Regions from separate parts of the Homo sapiens genome. Here region 2 is linked to region 1. The links are contacts of gene promoters, found by promoter capture Hi-C in blood cells and fetal thymus (Javierre and others, 2016). All regions are on one chromosome and are shown on one strand. Each heading gives the region's core, a stretch centred on a gene start or on the middle of the fragment in contact. The rest is flanking DNA. Distances are from core to core; before and after follow the strand shown.

Region 1 (3,760 bases), core at 557-3,056:
AGTTAAAAGGAGACTGACAAAATTACCTTTTAAAAAGATAAAAAGACAATAACTAACTTTGCACATAAAGGTTAACATTAGTGAATGTGTGACAACATCAATCACTTTCCTGGCCATCACAGCTGTGTCTTCTGCTTTACAACTAAACCATAACAGGGGAGGCGGGCAGTAGGGAAGCTTATCAATTGCCTGATTACTTTTCCACATTTAATGTAGCTGCTAATTCTATCCCTGTTATATGACGCATTAATTCCACAGTTATAACCCCAGAACCTAATACAGTGCCTGTTGGAAAGAAAATAAATTGACTAGTTGCAACAGTTTGTAATATGAAGGGATTGTTAGATACAATAGAAAATGGAATTATAAAGGACACAAAACACCCACTTAACGTATCATGAAGAAGTCTGTTAGTTCTGGATTGTAAATTCTACTCAGTGATACTCTTGCCAAGTCCCTTTAGGCCACAATTACTTTATCTGTAAAACTGAGTGATTTTATTAAATTAACTTCGGCACCACTTCAAGCTACCTGATAGAAATGAAGTCGACATAAATTGTGATTATGTTCATTAAGTTTCAAAAGGCAACTTTCTTAGGGGAATATTAAATAATGCTCTCTGTAAAATATTTCATAATGCAAATAATCCTCAGGGCAATGTGAAAACATTCTTAACCTATATTTGCTGCCCACAATTTTATTTAGTTTCTATTAAGTTTTCAAGCCTCTCCACCTCCAAGCATCTAGCACAACGTCTTTGCTCACAACACATGCTCTTAGGCCAACTCCAGAGGAGCGCTTCTATAAAATGCAAGGTCAGCATTTATTGAAGTTACTAAGGAGAGCTGAATTGGGGATTATGGAAGAAAAGATAAGGGCAGTGAGGTGGGAGCTGGAAATCCAGACGCCAGCTGTAGTTCTCAAATGTCCCAGGTGTCAAAAGAATTCTTTTTGCATCCACTGAGATTAAAAAAATATATATATATTTAACACTAGGATTAAATTGGGCTCAGCGTTAAATCCTAGCTGCTTCAGAATAAAACTCTTACTTTAATTTCTCTATTGTACAGTCTAGGACATAATAGGTTTTCAATGAAGATCAAACGAGAACCAGGAAATTAAGCTCAGTTAAGAATAAAACAGGACCACTACCCAATATGTCACTGCATAATTATAACTTAGCGTTTAAGTTCGTGGACTCCGCGTTCAAAAGGATTCTGTCATTTACATCTCTCTGCCTCACTACTCTCATCTGTAAAATGGGATAACAGGACTGTCTCAGAATTAAATGAGTTAATACATGCGAAGCGCTTGCCAGTGCACGTTTCTCAGTGCACGTTTCTCAGTGCACGTTTGACTTCCTTAATGAACAAAATCTCTTGAAGGCACGGTCCTACTAACTTCTGTACCCTTAACATAGAACCCCATACAATACTCAATGCCTGCTTTTTTTTTTTTTTTTTTTAATAAAAGAATTGACAATACACTCTAGGCTGGGGTCGCCTGGGAGACCGATGCGGAAAGCCGCGAAGGCAAAAGACCCGGGCTCCGCGACCCCCACCCGCGCGACGACGCCGCCGCCACCGCGTCGTCACACGGAGCAAAGTCCCCTGGGAAGTGTAGTCTTCAGGCCCTGGGAGGGACTTCAGCCACGGGCCGAGGAGCCAGGAAGTTGAGGGAAGGAAGCTAAGGGGAGGGTTACTGGGTAACTCAAAAGTGTCTGGAGCCCCAGAGGTAGGGTAAGCCGCTCACCTGAGTCTCCCAACACCAGTACCTTCACCCGATCCAGGGACGCCATCTTGCCACTGCCTTCCCTGGGTTAACGCCTGTTCCTGGATTGTAAGCCAATCAGAGTTGGGCATGGAGGGCAGAGCCTTCAATTTCATTGGCCACTCGGAGCGTGACTGTCTTGATCGAAGGTTTCACTGAACTCATTGGCTGGTCTGGTAAAAGGTAGCGGGGTGCTTCCCCAGCTGGTCGCAGGAATAGTGCGTTTTCTTTGTCGCGCAAGGGGCGTGGTTCATTTAAGCCGGTAGTTGAAGCGCTGGGGGCAGCTGTAGTGGGAGTGTTCCAGGATTCGCCTTGGTAAACCTTGTTCCCTGTTCCTTGTTCGGAGTTCCCTGGCCGGGCATTGCATTTCATGATTTCTTCTTCCTTTCGCTCCCTCTTAACTATCCTCCCCTAATGAATTACCCTGTTGCCTTGGTCCTCTTGGTCCTCCAAAGAACCATTGACCCCGGAGCGGCCCGTGTGCGACCTCGGGTAGGGCGGGCTTGGCTGCGCCGAGTGTGGCCCTGGACCCAACTGGGAGAGTCCGAGGGAGTTTGGGGTCTCGGAGTCTCGCATTGGGGAGGAGTGCATATCACCGAACGCGTCTCGTGGAGGGCAGCTGGGTCCGGAGGTTTCGCGGTAGTTTGCCGCTGTGTGTGTGAAGGCGTGGAAAGTGCCATGAAATGTGGTAACACAACACCGCAGTTAGATGTGTAGAATCCCAAGTTGTTCTAGAACTGGAGTGGCGATTTACTGAAGTAATCTAACTGGTCTCTTCGCATCCACTTTTCTTGTTTTTTTCTCCACTCTGCAGTCAGTACAATCTTTTAACATCCTGAATTTGATCCACGCACCTCCCGCTTAAAACTGTTTTAAATTTAAGAAGAGAGTGCCCAGTAGCCTGTCCGATTCTACCTTGGAAACAAGAGTGGAGGAAGTGAAGCAGGGGGAAGCTGGCAAGATGAGCCATGTTGGAACAAAACGTGCCTAGGAGACATATGGAAAGTTTTATGGAAGTACTTGTCTGGCTATGCTAGATGCTGGAAATTAATTGGTGAACAAGATGAAGTCTGGTCTTAGAGATAGACATGGAGAAAGTACAAGAAGGGGGAAAGAGCCATGGAACACGTGAAAGGGGATGATTGTATGCTACTTAATGGGGAGTCTGGGAAGGCCTCCATGAGGAAATATCATTTGAGACTTGAAGGATGATTAGGAGAAGGGGGTTTGGGCTTAGCTGTAGGGGCAGAAGGAACAGCATGTGCAAAGCCTTGGGATGCAGGGAAAGCACATGTGGCTCATGGAATTGAGAATATGCTGGTGTGGCTGGTTATGAGGCTGACAGGGTAGACAGAGGGCAGAGGGTGCCTTCTTTTCAACTTTGTTTCTCTGGCTCCGTGCCTGGTGCACAGTAGTCCTTAAATGTTGATATGATTAAAATACACGTGGGTCTGGGCTGGGGTAGGGAGGTGAGGCTGGGATCTGACTCATGGACTATGGAGATCAAAGGAAGAAACAAAGGTCCTAGGAGGTCCCACGCTCAGAAGTCTCCAGAGACCAGCCATACTCCTTCCCTAATAACGCCAGCTGCTATTCGGCTTCAGCTTATTGTTTCCATGTGGGAACATGGGCTCACTTTTTCCTCAGATATTTCCAATTTTGCAAGAGGAGCTGGAAGTTGAAATTTATGTGAACTCTTACAATTTTTAAATGTTGACAACTAATTCAGAAAATTTTTGAAACATTCTTTGGGTGATACAATGCGTGGGGGGCTGCCAGTTTGAGAACTCTTACCTAAGACCTCTAGAGATTGAGTAAGGAGATTCAGCGTGAGTGGGAAGTGATGGAGGAGAGAAGGTAGTGGTCAGGAAGGAGGATTTTAGAATGCAGAGATTTTGAACAAAGTGGCACAGCTTGATTTCATTCCTGAGCTCTAGTTTCATTTGTTCAGCTACCTGCTGGGCATATTCAGAGGAATATCCTATGGTAT
Region 2 (3,643 bases), core at 423-2,922, 100 kb before region 1:
AACTGGGAACTAGGCTCAGAATCAATGCATCACTGTTGATGTAGTTTGGATGTATGTTCCCTCCAACTCTCATGTTGAAATGTGATCCCCAGTGTTGGAGGTGGGGCCTGGTTTGAGGTGTTTGGGTAATGGAGGCAGATCCCTCATAAATGGCTTGGTGCCATCATGACGGTTATGAGTGAGTTCTCACTCTATGAGTTCACATGGGGTTTGGCTGTTCAAAAGAAGCTGGGACTTCCTCCTTTCTCTTGCTTGCTCTCATCATGTGATATGCCAGCTTCCCTCTTGCCTGCCACCATGATTGTATTTCCTGAGGCTTCATTAGAAACAGATGCCAGCACCATGCTGCTTGTACAGCCTGCATAACCACGAGCCAAATGAACCTCTTTTCATTATAAATTAAGTAGCCTCAGGTATTCCTTTATAGCAACGAAGAATGGACTAACACAACTACCATCCCTTAAAGAGATTAAAGCTTGGGGATCAGCACTAGGCCTTGTGCAGCAGGATCCTGAATTCATGCCATGGTGGGTGTCCAGAAATAACCCAGGCATTATTCCCAATGTGTAGCGCTCACTGCTTTGTTGTCTCTTTGGCTTGCAAATGTGGCTTGGTAAAAGAGAGACTTACTATGGTAATAAGGAGGCCTGAAGGTCTTATCAGCAACCCCCCATCGAGGTGGGAAGATGACAAAATCAGCAATGGCCACTCCAGGGCGGACAGACTTAGCAGTCAATACTGTGAAAATGGATGGGTCCTGTGAACACACAAGGAGAGACTGAACGCATGATGCAAGGGAAGTGACTGGACAATGACACACATTTCATGCATACATGAAGGTGTTTGCAAGTGACATTCTAATTTTTTTATTTATTTTTATTCAACTTTTAATTTAGATAGAGGGATACATATGCAGTTTTGTTACATGGGTATATTGTGTGATACTGAGGTTTGGGGTAGGGATCTGATATGGTTTGGTTGTGTCCCCACCCAAATCTCATCCTGAATTGTAGCTTCCATAATCCCCACATGTTGTGAGAAGGACCCGGTGGGAGGTAACTGAATCATGGGGGCAGGTTTTTCCCATGCTGTTCTCATGATAGTGAATAAGTCTCACAAGATCTGATGGTTTTATAAAGGGCAGTTCCCCAACACATGCTCTCTTGATTGCCTCCATGTAAGACATGCTTTTGCTCCTCCTTCGCCTTCCACCATGATTGTGAGGCCTCCCCAGCCATGTGGAACTGTGGATATGTTAAACCCCTTTTTCTTTATAAAGTACCCAGTCTCGGGTATTTCTTCACAGCAGTATGAAAATGGACTAATACAGGATCCCATCACCCAGGTAGCGAGCATAGTATCCAATAGGTAGTTTTTTCACCCTCCCCCTTCTAGTAGTCTCCAGTGTCTATTTTTCTCATGTTTATGTCCATGGGTGCTCAATGTTTAGCTCCCACTTATAAGTGAAAAGATGCAGAAGTTGGTTTTCTATTCCTGCATTAATTTGCTTAGGATTATGGCTTCCAGCTGCATCCATGTTGCTGCAAACGGACAGCCTAATTTCTGATCAAACAACAGAAGTCTGGGCTTGTCATCAAGGTGCAATAATCACTCATATGACTTTTTCCTCTTGCTGTGCTTGAGGCAAAATGAATTAACACCAGCTAAAAGGATTCTGAACTGCTTTTTCACCCTGCTGAGCCCACATTACATGCAACTTATTACCCCGTGGGTCTGAGAACCAACGGTGCCTGCTTCTCAACCTCAGATCAAGTTGACTAGAGCTGAGATGTGCAGCAGAAGGGATGCTCAGAGCAAAGTAGAAATAGAAATAAAGCAAAATCCAAGTTTTGGTGTAGATGTGCTCCTCTTTGGGAGAATACGGAGATTCCAGATTGTATCCATTGGCAGAAAAGTCTGAGAAGTGGTTCATTGCTTTCCTACCTTTGTTTGACTTTCAGGTCTAAAACACAGCATTTACATCCGTAGTCTTCATAGTGGTAGTGTAGAGATAGGATAGGTTGAGGGACGAAATTATACTTTTTAAAACTCTTCAGAATTCTTTAGTGAGAAGGTTGAGATTCAATTTAATTGAAATCAACAATCATGTTCCCTTTCAGATGCCATGTAAGAGTCTGGAGATTCAAAGATCATGGGGATCGATTCCCTGCTTCTTTAGCATTAATTGTGGGGTGGGGGTTGGGCAGCTAATTCTACCTGAAAGGGTCAAGGAAGGCTTCAAAGAGGAGGTGACATTTGAGGTAGGTCTTCAAGAATGAACAGAAAGAAAGAAAAAGAGAGAGAGAAAGGAAGGAAGGAAGGAAAGAAGGAAGGAAGGAAGGAGCATATGTACCCTTGAACCTAAAATAAAAGTTAAAAAAAAAAAAAGAAAGGAAGGACGTGGCGGGGATGGGGGAAAAAGGGAGGGAGGGAGGGAGGGAGGACTAAGGAAGTGGGAAGGAAGGGAAATGACATTTTAATCACTGAAAACACATCAAAGTGCACAGAGATTTTGTTAAGAGGAGAGAAGGCTAAAACCCCAGTGCATTGACAGAAGGGAGAGGGGCAAGAGGTGATACTGGAAAATGAGTCCAGGGACAGATGGTGAAGAGCATCAAACACCATGCTTCAGAGTGCAGACTTAATCCTAAGCCATGGGAAGCCTGCAAAGGCTTTCTAATGAAGACAGTGGTGGCATGATCAGAACTGAATTTTGGAAAAATAACTATTGCAGCAATACAGAGAAGATCGCATCTGTGTAAATTCAAATAAAAATAAACCCAACCCTTATTGCTGTGAGAATTGACATTTCTTCAACTGTCATGGGACATGATCTGAAACTATTAAAGCAAAGGTAGTGAATCACAAATAAAGCTTTATCAGTGTCTCAGGATCCTTTTTCGTGCTGTTTGTTTGGGGTCTGATGTCTCACTTTTCTTTTCCCCTTTGCTTTTATTAAGAGTTGCTGCTGTTTGGAGAGGTAGGTTTGTCCCCCCAGAGATAAACTGAACTGGCTCACAATAATCCTTTTGCCTCTGAGTCTCTGACTTCTGCTCTAATTATCCTTCCAGCTTGTGGGTTAGGTTCATCTCTTATGAAGTGAGCTGCAAAATGAACTTCCCCCCGGGGTCTCAGAACCACCACTTTATTAAGAATGTAGGGTCTTGGGAGCCTGCACTGTAGACCAGAGACCATTTGTGGCCTGCGAACTGAGTGAAAAATATGACCAAGTTCATGCTCTAGAATTTCTTTGGTTTAAACTCAAGCACTGAAAGTTATGAGTAACTTTAGAAGTGGGCTGTTCACTCTGTCACTGCCAAATACAGCCAGGAATGAAGGCACTGGGGTGAGAAGTCAGAGATCATAGAGGAGGCTCTTGAGAGTTGTGGGGTCAGGGACTTCTCCAAATTCATAAAGTTCCTTTCTCCTCATTCTACCACCGACATTAACACTTGGTTGTTTTGGGGGATAAATTTTCCACAAAGAAACTAAGTGTTTATCCACTTAGTTTGGCAAATACAAGTCAGAGTATCACCAATGCTCTGTAGAGAATGAAGCTATGTTCACAGGGGAATGTTGAGTATCTGGCTTTGCTTCCCTACTAGTTGTGTTATTTACTCCCTCACCAAAGGACAAATGACTA

Evidence for each region. The method cuts DNA at HindIII sites, captures the fragments that hold promoters and counts their contacts. A CHiCAGO score of 5 or more calls a contact.
Region 2: a fragment that was not itself captured here is called in contact with the fragment with the promoter of RABL3 in region 1 in 1 of 17 cell types (megakaryocytes); the score reaches 6.6 in megakaryocytes.

The regions. Positions count from the first base shown.
Region 1 is chr3:120,740,710-120,744,469 of GRCh38, forward strand. RABL3 (RAB, member of RAS oncogene family like 3) reads right to left here and starts at 1,807. Exons shown (of 8, transcript NM_173825.5): 1 at 1,753-1,807. The coding sequence starts at 1,798. It overlaps GTF2E1 (general transcription factor IIE subunit 1), which reads left to right and starts at 2,035. Exons shown (of 5, transcript NM_005513.3): 1 at 2,035-2,085. RefSeq lists enhancers at 1,068-1,706, 1,538-1,827, 1,707-2,345, 1,793-2,087, 1,968-2,087. The HindIII fragment of the contact is 8,742 bases long and covers 176-3,760 here.
Region 2 is chr3:120,637,825-120,641,467 of GRCh38, forward strand. It overlaps HGD (homogentisate 1,2-dioxygenase), which reads right to left. Exons shown (of 14, transcript NM_000187.4): 12 at 631-757. Among named protein-coding and RNA genes, the nearest start is that of HGD, 43 kb to the right of the region's middle. The HindIII fragment of the contact is 2,399 bases long and covers 474-2,872 here.